Linked DNA regions of Homo sapiens: region 2 is linked to region 1. Evidence: promoter capture Hi-C in human tissues and cell types (Jung and others, 2019). All regions are on one chromosome and are shown on one strand. Each heading gives the region's core, a stretch centred on a gene start or on the middle of the fragment in contact. The rest is flanking DNA. Distances are from core to core; before and after follow the strand shown.

What was found. Contacts are between HindIII fragments. The study calls those that stand out against the background at their distance.
Region 2: a fragment that was not itself captured here is called in contact with the fragment with the promoter of RNASEK-C17orf49 in region 1 in 2 of the 25 tissues and cell types used here (H1 embryonic stem cells and lymphoblastoid cells).

Annotation. Positions count from the first base shown.
Region 1 is chr17:7,009,658-7,014,577 of GRCh38, reverse strand. It overlaps RNASEK-C17orf49 (RNASEK-C17orf49 readthrough), which reads right to left and starts at 2,161. Exons shown (of 8, transcript NR_037717.1): 1 at 1,821-2,161; 2 at 836-912; 3 at 1-433. It overlaps RNASEK (ribonuclease K), which reads right to left and starts at 1,954. Exons shown (of 3, transcript NM_001004333.5): 1 at 1,817-1,954; 2 at 836-912; 3 at 46-433. The coding sequence starts at 1,894. The coding sequence ends at 292. ALOX12-AS1 (ALOX12 antisense RNA 1) reads left to right here and starts at 2,244. Exons shown (of 3, transcript NR_040089.1): 1 at 2,244-2,382; 2 at 4,689-4,782. ALOX12 (arachidonate 12-lipoxygenase, 12S type) reads right to left here. Exons shown (of 14, transcript NM_000697.3): 12 at 4,731-4,831; 13 at 4,452-4,622; 14 at 3,824-4,334. The coding sequence ends at 4,155. RefSeq lists enhancers at 1-83, 1-334, 1,514-1,693, 1,774-1,893, 1,973-2,593. The HindIII fragment of the contact is 15,519 bases long and covers 1-4,920 here.
Region 2 is chr17:6,763,526-6,768,445 of GRCh38, reverse strand. The region is part of intron 5 of XAF1 (XIAP associated factor 1); the gene reads right to left. Among named protein-coding and RNA genes, the nearest start is that of XAF1, 9.9 kb to the right of the region's middle. The HindIII fragment of the contact is 6,608 bases long and covers 1-4,920 here.

The sequences.
Region 1 (4,920 bases), core at 912-3,411:
AGTCTCAGCCCCGTGCTCGCCCCCACTCAAGCACAGACACAGGGCTGAAGAGAGCAGATTCTCTTTATTGAGATACGGGACACAGCGAAGGGTGGAGAAACGGAACAGCCCCCCAGCCTCAGCCCTCTCCACGGGGGCCGGATGCCAGAGATGGGAGAAGGGATTCAGTCTCTCGCCCGGGAAACCCAGTCCCGCAGAGGGCGCCGGCAAGGGTGGGACGCGACCTGGGTGACACGGTGCAGGGAGTCTTTAAATAGAGGAGGGGCTGGAGCGGGGAAACGCGCCGGGGCCCTAGCGCACCATGTATTCCTTGCGCTTATTGAGCCGAACTTGGCAGAAAGAGAAGCCTCCGAGGAGGAGGTAAAGGCCTGCAGCGATGAAACAGTTGTAGCTGACTTGCTCGTAAAGGTTGTATATGTTCTGGGGGCCATTCCTGGGGGTGGGAATGAAGCAAAGGGGTCAAACTTTAATAGGAGCCAACATTTTCTGAGCACTATGTGCCCGACACCTGTTTAGGCGCTGTTACGTGTATTACTTTATTCAATCTTCTTGACCATCCTATGGGGTGAGATCTGTCATAGCCATTTTGCAGAGGTGGACTGAGAAGCACAGAAAAGTAAAATACCTAAAGAGGTCACACCTAAGGTGGTGGGTTTGGGATGGCCGCTGAGGTCTGACTCCCTGGCTCCTAACCACATTCTCAAGAAAGCCGCTCTCCTCTCCAAGTCCTCTAACCTAGGGGCCCTAAGCACCGGGCCTCCCAGACGTAATTCTGACCCTAGGCCTCGCCACCTCCCACCTGCTCCCAGCCCGCCTCCCCCACCCGAATACTTACTCAAAATCTTTCTCCGTGAAGGGAACGTCCTCAATCAACACAGCGGAATGGACATTGAAAAATATTCCGAGCATTATCTGGAAAAGGGGAATGGGTAGACTGTTGAATTCAGGCACCTGACCTCATGTTCACTTCGTAAACCCCTCCCATTTCCAATGTTGCTACAACACCCGAGCCTGAGATTAACCAAAACGAGGTGGTGGTTACTGGATTCGGACTCAGCCACCTGGAACAGGGCGTGAGGTGGTGACATTGAGACAAGTGGTCGAGGCAAGGGTGGGAATAGTGACCAAGCCATCTCTCCCAGGAACCCAGATTATCGTCCTCTCTGGAGGCGTCATCATCACGGGACAGTGCGGAAGAGGGGAGGGAGAACCGGCACTTCTTCATATCATTTCTTCTTGAAGTGGCGGTGGGTGGATTACTGGGAAAACAAGGCCCAGCTACACATTTCTGGAACAAGCACTCTCTTTTCCTCCCATGTCCTCCATTCAACTCAAGCACCTCTCAGGCACCCCGCTCTTGTTTCTCCTACCTTGAGGGGTCTCCACCTTTACCAGCCCTGGCTCCTCCCACTCCAGGGCCCTCCGCTCCAGTTCCCTTTTTTCTTTTTCTTTGGGGACGGAGTCTCGCTCTGTCACCCAGGCTGGAGTGCAGTGGCGCGATCTCGGCTCACTGCACCCTCCGCCTCCCGGATTCAAGCGATTCTCCTGCCTCAGCCTCCTGAGTAGCTGGGATTACAGGCGGGCGCCACCACGCCCGGCTAATTTTTGTATTTTTATTGGAGACGGGGTTTCACCATGTTGGTCAGGCTGGTCTCGAACAGTTCCCATTTTTCAATTTCAGTCTGTCTCCTTCTCCGGGGCCTGTAGATCCCCGGCCCCTCCGGCCTGCCTGCGGCCCAGAGTTTCCTCGCCTCCCAGCCCTCCCAGCCCGGAGCCCCTCAGGCCCTCTCCGATCCTTGCCGGGGAGTCCCCTCACCAACATGATCACTCCCCAGGCGCTGAGGACGATGCCGCAGGCGGCCAGCTTCGGCCCACAGCACAGGAGCGACGCCATAAAGAAGGGAGTCGGGGATCGCCGAGGTGCAAGCGGGCTCGGAAAGCGGTGGGAGAAAGCCCAGGATGCCCTCGCAGGGGGGCAGAGGGGGCGTGGCCCCGGCCTCAACCATCCCATCCGGGGGCGGCAGGCGGAAAAGGCTGGGCTCCTCTCAGGACTTTCGCGGGAGACGGCGCCGTCTGAAACCAAAACTGCTCCTGGGGAAACCTTCCTTGACCTCTGTAGCTAGGGCGTGAGTATTGGAAGAGCGAGGGCCTCCGGTTTGTTGGTCCCCCTCCCCCCGCACACGGGAATGGAAGGAGCTGGTATGTCACGTGACCAAGCCTGTCACGTCACGTGACGAGGAACTAGCCTTAGCGAGGCCATGGGGGAAAAAGTCTAACTGGCGGAACTCCTGGGAACTGGGGCGATGGGCTCTTAGTATCGGAGGATTGGAGCCATCTGATTTTTACCTGAAATTCCTTAGTCTCTCCTGTGTTGGGGAAATGGTAAGTAAGACAGATTTTCACCAACAGAGAGCGTTTCTATCTCTTCTCTACTCCTCCCTTTTAAAATTGAGATTCTGACAGTGTAAAGGAGTTAGGACCCCCTTTTGGGGATCGGGCATGGTTTTGTGGCTTTAAAATGCTTTAAAATTGCTGAAGTTTCTTGGTATTGGAACTGTTTCTCCTAAGTAACATTTTATCATCGCACGTGAAATACTGTAACTCTCGGTGCCAAATCCAGGAAAAATGGGCGGTTAGGAGAAGTCCAGGGAAAGCCGACTGAGCAGGTTGTGAAGGTAAGCAGTCCTGTTAAATGTACACAAAAATGTCACTTTGCTTCTCTAAACTAGGAAAACTGATAGGACTTTTGAATAAGGTAGGATATAAGATTTAAAAATATAAATAGGTCATCCCCTCCAAAAAAGCCGTTTGTATGTTTAACTGGTGAGTGACAGATCTGTAATAATTATTTAGAAATAGGAATGTCGAGGCGGGCGGATCACCTGAGGTCGGGAGTTCGAGACCAGCCAGGTCAACATGGCGAAACCCTGTCTCTACTAAAAATTACAAAAATTAGCTGGATGTGGTGGCATGAGCTTGTGATCCCAGCCACTCGGGATGGTGAGGCGGGATAATCCCTTGAACCCGGGAGGCGAAGGTTGCAGTGAGCTGAGATGGCGCCACTGCATTCCCGCCTGGGCGATAGAGACTACTTCTAAAAAAAAAAAAAAAAAGAAAAGAAAAGAAGTAGGGATGTTTGAAGAACACAGTTTTGCAGTGAGCAAGTTGTACCCACTCTAGTGAGGACAGTGACCTCAGAATAATTGAGAGGGATCATTTGACCTTGAGACCCCAGGACCTAACAAATAAACACTATCATTGGCTAGAATAACTTTGTAGTTCTTGTCCATTTATTTTGTGCATGTTGTTCTTAAAAGGCTTGTGAAAGATAACTTGGAATGTGGGAAACACATAGATCCCAGAGTATTAAAGGGGCTGGAAAAGTAGCCTTAAGACATGAATTATGTGCCTTTCATCTGGGACTGTTTGGAGAAAGAAGCCATTTTGGGGCAGTGGTTTGTATTCTGCCCCAAAAACATGATTCTTATTCAGGGACTTTTGGGGTACATGGGTGAATAGGAGAAATATGGGTGGAAGGAATTTGCCAAAGAACTGAGTCAGGAATTTGTACATTGGCCACCAGGCATGAAGGTTAGTTCCTGGGAATGGAGAGTTAGCTGAGGTAAGCTGATTTTTCTAAGAAATCCCCCTGCTCCATGATCTTGGATGTTTTGGAAGTAGGGTCAGGGCCTCAGGCTAGTGCAGGGTTCAAGGGCCAAATCCAGTCTGTAGCCTGGCTGTGCATGTCTCAAACAAAGCACATTTGTTTGTGGATTTTTTTTGCATTTTAAATGGTTGAATAAACCAAAAGAAGACTACTTTGTGATGTAACATTCATATCTCAGTGTCCATAAAGTTTTATTGGAACATAGTCACACTCATTTCCATGTTGTCTGTGGCTGCCTTCATGCTGCAGCAGGAGAGCTGAGTAGTTGAGACAGTGACTATGCGGTCTGCAAAGCGTAAAAAAGGATCTAGTCTTTGCAGAGAAAGTTTACTGCTCCCCTGGGCTAGTGGGATACTAATGTAGGGGGTTTAACTGGGGGAGGAAATAGAGCCTTAGCAGCAGAGACTTTAGGAAAGCATGAAATTCAAGATAGAAATGTCAGTCCTAAAGCTGATGTGAAATCTTGCAGGTAGAGTCACTCTAGGGCTCAGATGGTGACACTGTTCTCTATGCAGCTGGGCTTCAGATATTCATAGGGCCAGTCAAGTTGCTCATTCCGGGCTGTAATCTCCTTTTCCAGCTTTTCCAAATCTGTTCGGAATTGGTTTAGCACAGCTTTGGGCTTGGGGCCTGAGAAATATTTTTCTTTGTGGTGCCCCAGAGGCACCTGAGACAGAACAAAGGATCAGTCAGTTTCTAAAGACAAACGCACCTAGAGCCCAGCCCCTCACTCTGATGTTTCCTTTCCAACTGTCATTTCCCTCTCCCGAGAGTCCCCTCTCACCATGTCTGGCTGGCGGCGACTCAGATGCCATGAGATGGCCATTTGAAGACAGGCCTGCCGGACATCAGGTAGTGACCCCATCACTGTGGCCATCGTCACATCTTCCTTGGTGGTGGGTGGGGGCATCCGCATTGTGCATGGAGCATTAGGGACCCAGGCATACCAGTCCAGCTGGAGGAAGAAACTGTAACCCTAGAACCCTGGTACTTAGGGTTTGAACTCCCATCTCTCCCTCAGGTCACCTTGCCTTCAGGGACCTGGGCTTTCAGCTGTCCATACCTGGCCCTGGTTGATGGCGGCATGCTGGGCAGTGCACGTGAAGACGCACATGGTGAGGAAATGGCAGAGTTGACTCTGGGACTGGAAGGAGACAGGGAAACCTGGGCAGGAAAGGAATAGCAGTTAGAAGCTACAGCATAAGAGGAGAGGAACAAAGGCTGTTGTTTTGGGATGCCCATATTTTAGAATT
Region 2 (4,920 bases), core at 1,264-3,763, 250 kb after region 1:
AGGGTAAACTTGTGAGTATATCCAGCCGGGCACAGTAGCTCATGCCTGTAATCCTAGCACTTTGGGAGGCCGAGGTGGGCAGATTATGTGAGGTCAGGAGTTCAAGACCAGCTTGGCCAACATGGAAAAGCCCATCTCTACTAAAAATACAAAAATTAGCCAGACGTGGTGGCACACACCTGTAGTACCAGCTACTTGAGAGGCTGAGGCAGGAGAACTGCTTGAACCCAGGAGGCGAAGGCTGCAGTGAGCCAAGATCGTGCCACTGCACTCAAGCCCAGGCAACAGAGTGAGACTTTTGTCTCAAAAAAAAAAAGAAAGAAAGAAAGAAAAAAAGCAAAAACAAAAACATGTGAGTATATCTAAACAGGCATGAGTTACATAAATAACAACAATAATCAGTAAAGAGGGGTAGTATGAAAGCAAAATGAAACAAAATTCTGGCAGCATTTTCATGTAAGATAGTTACAGTGTTAACATGTTCTCAAATCTATATACTATTTGTAAGGAAAGTAGAGATAATGACTAACTTTAGACTTTATTAAGTCAAGTATTTATATTAAAATGTTAAGGGTAACTATTGAAATGATAGAAATAAATGTAAAATTGACGAATCAGTAGGAAAGAAGAAAGAGAATAAAGAAATCTTGCTCAATCCAATAGAATACAAGGGAGAAGCAAGCAGCAGCAGCAGCAGCAGCAGCAGCAGTAGTAATGAACAAGAGTGGTAAATGCAAGGCCCCAAAACGATGGGGGAAAATTATTGTTAACATCATTGAGAGTGATAAAGGCATTGTGATTAAGAAAATGACTGTATTTTTGAGATATTAAAGAATGATGGTGAAATAACAGGATATCTTGGATTTGCTTTAACATACTTTAGAAAAAAGAAAACAAACAAAGTATAGTTCAAGCCTGGAAAACTTTTGATTTCCACGTGTTAACAGCTATTTTCTCTTAGCACTTTGAAGATTATTCCACTGCATACCCACTTCTATTATTGCTGTCGATATATTTGCTTTCAGCCTAACTGCCATTCCTTTGCTTGTAATCTTCTTCGGCTGATTTCAAAGAAATCAACCTTTGCCTTTTACCTGTAATGTATCTAAGAGTAGATTTATTTTTATTCACCTTGTTTAGAACAACAACTGTTGTATCTGGGGAGTAAATACATGAATGTTTATTGTATTAACTTTCTACTGTCATATTTATTTGAAAGTTTTTGTAATCAATTTTATTTCTTTTATTTTTAGTGGACAAGTAATAATGATACATACTTATAGAATACAGAATGATTTTCTAATACATGTATACAGTGTGTAGTGGCCAAATCAGAATTGTAATAAGATTTTTAATAAACAGATTAAGATGGTCAATAGATTCTATAGCCACCCAAGCTTTCATTTTCAGACATATAAGGCCTAAAAAATTTGCCTCTCATGCTTTCTTTCTCAAGAAACTATTTGGGGATATGTTCTATCAAACAAGGAGTAACCTAAGAAAGAGAAAGATGAGACCTGAGATTTGGGAATCAGAACTCCAACCGTGGAGAGAGTGGAAGAAATTCCAGACCAACAGCTAATCATCAAGCCTGGGGCATAACATGCTCCCAAAATGAAATGGACAGACTATCTGATGTGTGTAGTTGTACTCAGGGGAATTTTCAGATCTGGTAGAGAATTTTAGGGATGATTTAGTGATAGGTACCTAGAAAGTGAAGCAAATGAAAAACCGAAGCAATTATTAAGTCCAGGTAAAACAAAAAGTTGTAGGAGAAAGAACACATAATCACAATTCATGTGGAAAACCATTTATAATGTTTACATGGTTATACTAATGTAATACTGAATATTTATTTAACCAGAATGAGTGAAATCAATACATTGGAAGGATGAAATGAAGAACTTTGGAGGTGTGTGTGTGGGATGGGTGGTATAAAAAAGTGAAATCTATATTCCTAAATCCTTATGAGTCAATAAGTAATATCTAAAACTGGAAAAAATATAAGAAGGTGCTTTAGACATATGAAGGTGATTACCAGAAGAAACAGCTAAAAGCAAAAGTAGAGTATTTGTGTCTGGGGAGTAGTTAGCATGAAGGGGACCAGTGGGGCTTATAGTTTTTCTGAGGTCGTGGGAGACAATTAACAAGGGCCATAATAAGTAAGTAAATTAGATAATATGTTAGAAGTTGGCAAATGCTATGGAAAAAATAATAGAAGAAGGTAAGGGGTTGGTAAATATGTGATGGAGAGGGAGTTGCAATTTTAAATAGGTTGTTGTGGTACATCTCCTTGAGAAGGTGCCATCTGGGCAAAGACTTGAGAGAAGTGAGAGAGTTAGCTCCTGGAGTAGGGTGGGGAAGGTGAGGAGGTAGCTTCCAGCCAGAGGCAGTAGCCAGTGAAAAGGCCCTAAGGCATGGTATGCTCAAGAAACAATCAGGAGGCCAGTGAGCTGAACAGGAGTAGTACATGAGATCAAAGAGGTGATGAGATAAGAAGGGAGGCAAAGATGACATAGATCTCTAAAGCCACTGTAGTTTTGAGTTTGCATAAAATGGGGCAAGAATCAGTACAGAGATCTGAACAGAGGAGCCAAACAATCTGACTTGTATTTTTAAGGGATCACGTTGACCTCTGTGATGAGAATAGACTGTAGGGGGCAAGGTGAGAAGTAGGAAGACCGTTTAGGAGACTGCTGCAGCATCTGGGCTAGAGAAGATGATGGTTCATACCAGGGTAGCAATGCGGAGGGAAAGAGAAGTCGAGAGTGAACCTGAGATTTTGGCCTGAACAACTGGAAAGATAGAGTTGCCATCAACTGAGATGGGCCAAGCTGTGGCAGAGAGGATTCCATTTCAGATGTGTTACATTTAAGATGTCTATCAAGCATTCAAGTGAAGATGCAGTAAATAGTAATATACAAATCTAGAGTTTGGGGAGAAAAACCCAGACTGAGATATAAATTTGGAAGTGTCTGACTACATATGGCTTTTTAAAAAATTTTTAAATTTTTATTTATTTATCTATTTTTTGAGATGGAGTCTCGCTCTGTCGCCCAGGCTGCAGTGTAGTGGCGTGATCTCGGCTCACTGCAAGCTCCGCCTCCTGGGTTCACGCCATTCTCCTGCCTCAGCCTCCCGAGTAGCTGGGACTATAGTCACCCACCACCACACCCGGCTAAGTTTTTGTATTTTTAGTAGAGACGAGAGTTCACTGTGTTAGCCAGGTTGGTCTCGATCTCCTGACCTTGTGATCCTCCCACCTCGGCCTCCCAAAGTGCTGGGATTACAGGCATGAGCCACCATACCCGGCCTTACATATGGCATTTTTAAAAATCAGGAGGTAGGATGAAATAATGAAGGCAGTGAATATAGGTAGAGAAGAGACCAGAGACTAAGCCCTGGGGCCCCCCAAAATTAAGAGGCTGGGGAGGTAGAGAATGAGAGACCACCAATGTCCTTGAAAACCAGGAAAGTGTGGTACCCTGGAAGCCGAGAAAGTCCACTGAGGAAGAGGGAGTGATGAGCAGTAAATGCTTCCCATAAATTGAGAACTGAGAACTGAGCATTGGATTTAGCAATGCAGAGGTCATTGATTTTGACAAGAGCAGATTTGGTTAAAATGGAGAGCCAGACTGGAGTGGGAATAAGAATGAGAGAAGAAAAGATGGAGGCAGTTACTTATAGACAACTAGCTCAAATGTTTTTCTACGGAGGGGAACAAAGAAACAAGATGGTAGCTTATAGGAAATGGGATCAGAAGTATTTCATGTTTTTCTGGCTTTGGGTCATATTAATAAAAAGTTAAAGACTGAAAACCACAAAACCACCTAGTATACATGATTTCAATCCTTAATTTTCAAAATTAAAAAAAAATTCTTTTCGTGCAAGGCCATTGATATATAAATATTCAATAGTGGTACCCCTTTAAAAAGTTATTGTAAGAAATGTTAGGACAACCTAGAGATGTGAGACTTTGTTGTTACCTGCGTGTACAGCTCATTTAACCTCTCTCTGTTGCAGGACAGAGAGGGGAGAATTGCTGGAGCAGTGTAGCAAAAAACTTGTGTGACCTTGTGTAGGCAAAAAGAGAGGGTATATTATACCAGTAGGAGGGGATAGGCTTTAGAGAGGCACATAGGAAGCTCCTCTATGGTTAAGAGGTGGGAAGGCAAAGTAAGTGAGTGTGGATGCTGCCAAGGAGATAGATCTGGTGTTGGCTGGTTGTGGATGTCTTCTTTTCCTGAACAAGGAGATAAACCATTATCCCCATTTTCCTCAAAAGAAGAAAGAAGCTCAGAGAGGTTACACAGCCAGTAAGGGGCACAGCAGAACTAAAATTCAGAGTTTCTGAGCACAAATCCAGTTCCATGTGTATTGGAGCTCCCCACTTCCCTGTAGCCTTCAAATAAGTGTGTAGGTGCCCTGGTTGCCAGGCTGGACATTTGAAGGGAAGTAGTCAGCTTTACTCTTGTTTTGGTGCTCACCAAGTATTTTCTCATTCAAACAGAACACATGGACCACTTATAGGATCGAATAAACATCAGTACTAAGGAAAACAAGTCAGTAGGTGATTTCCACGTACAGCCAAGGCTGAGAATCCCGTGGCTGGGGCAGCGCATCTCAGACTTGAAATGCCTGGGAAATCATGTGACCCTGCATATTCTGATTTAGCATTTCTAGGGGGAGGGCCTGAGATTCTGCATTTCTAACAGGATTCCAGGTGATGCTCATGCAGCTGGTCCACAGACTGCACTTCAAAAAGCAAAGAGCTGAAAGGTGGAAACAATCCGAATGTTTACCAACAAGTAGAGAAACAAAATGTGGGATGACCGTAAAAAGGCCATTAACTTTGGGAGGCCGAGGAAGGCGGATAACCTGCGGTCAGGAGTTTGAGACTGGCCTGGCCAACATGGTAAA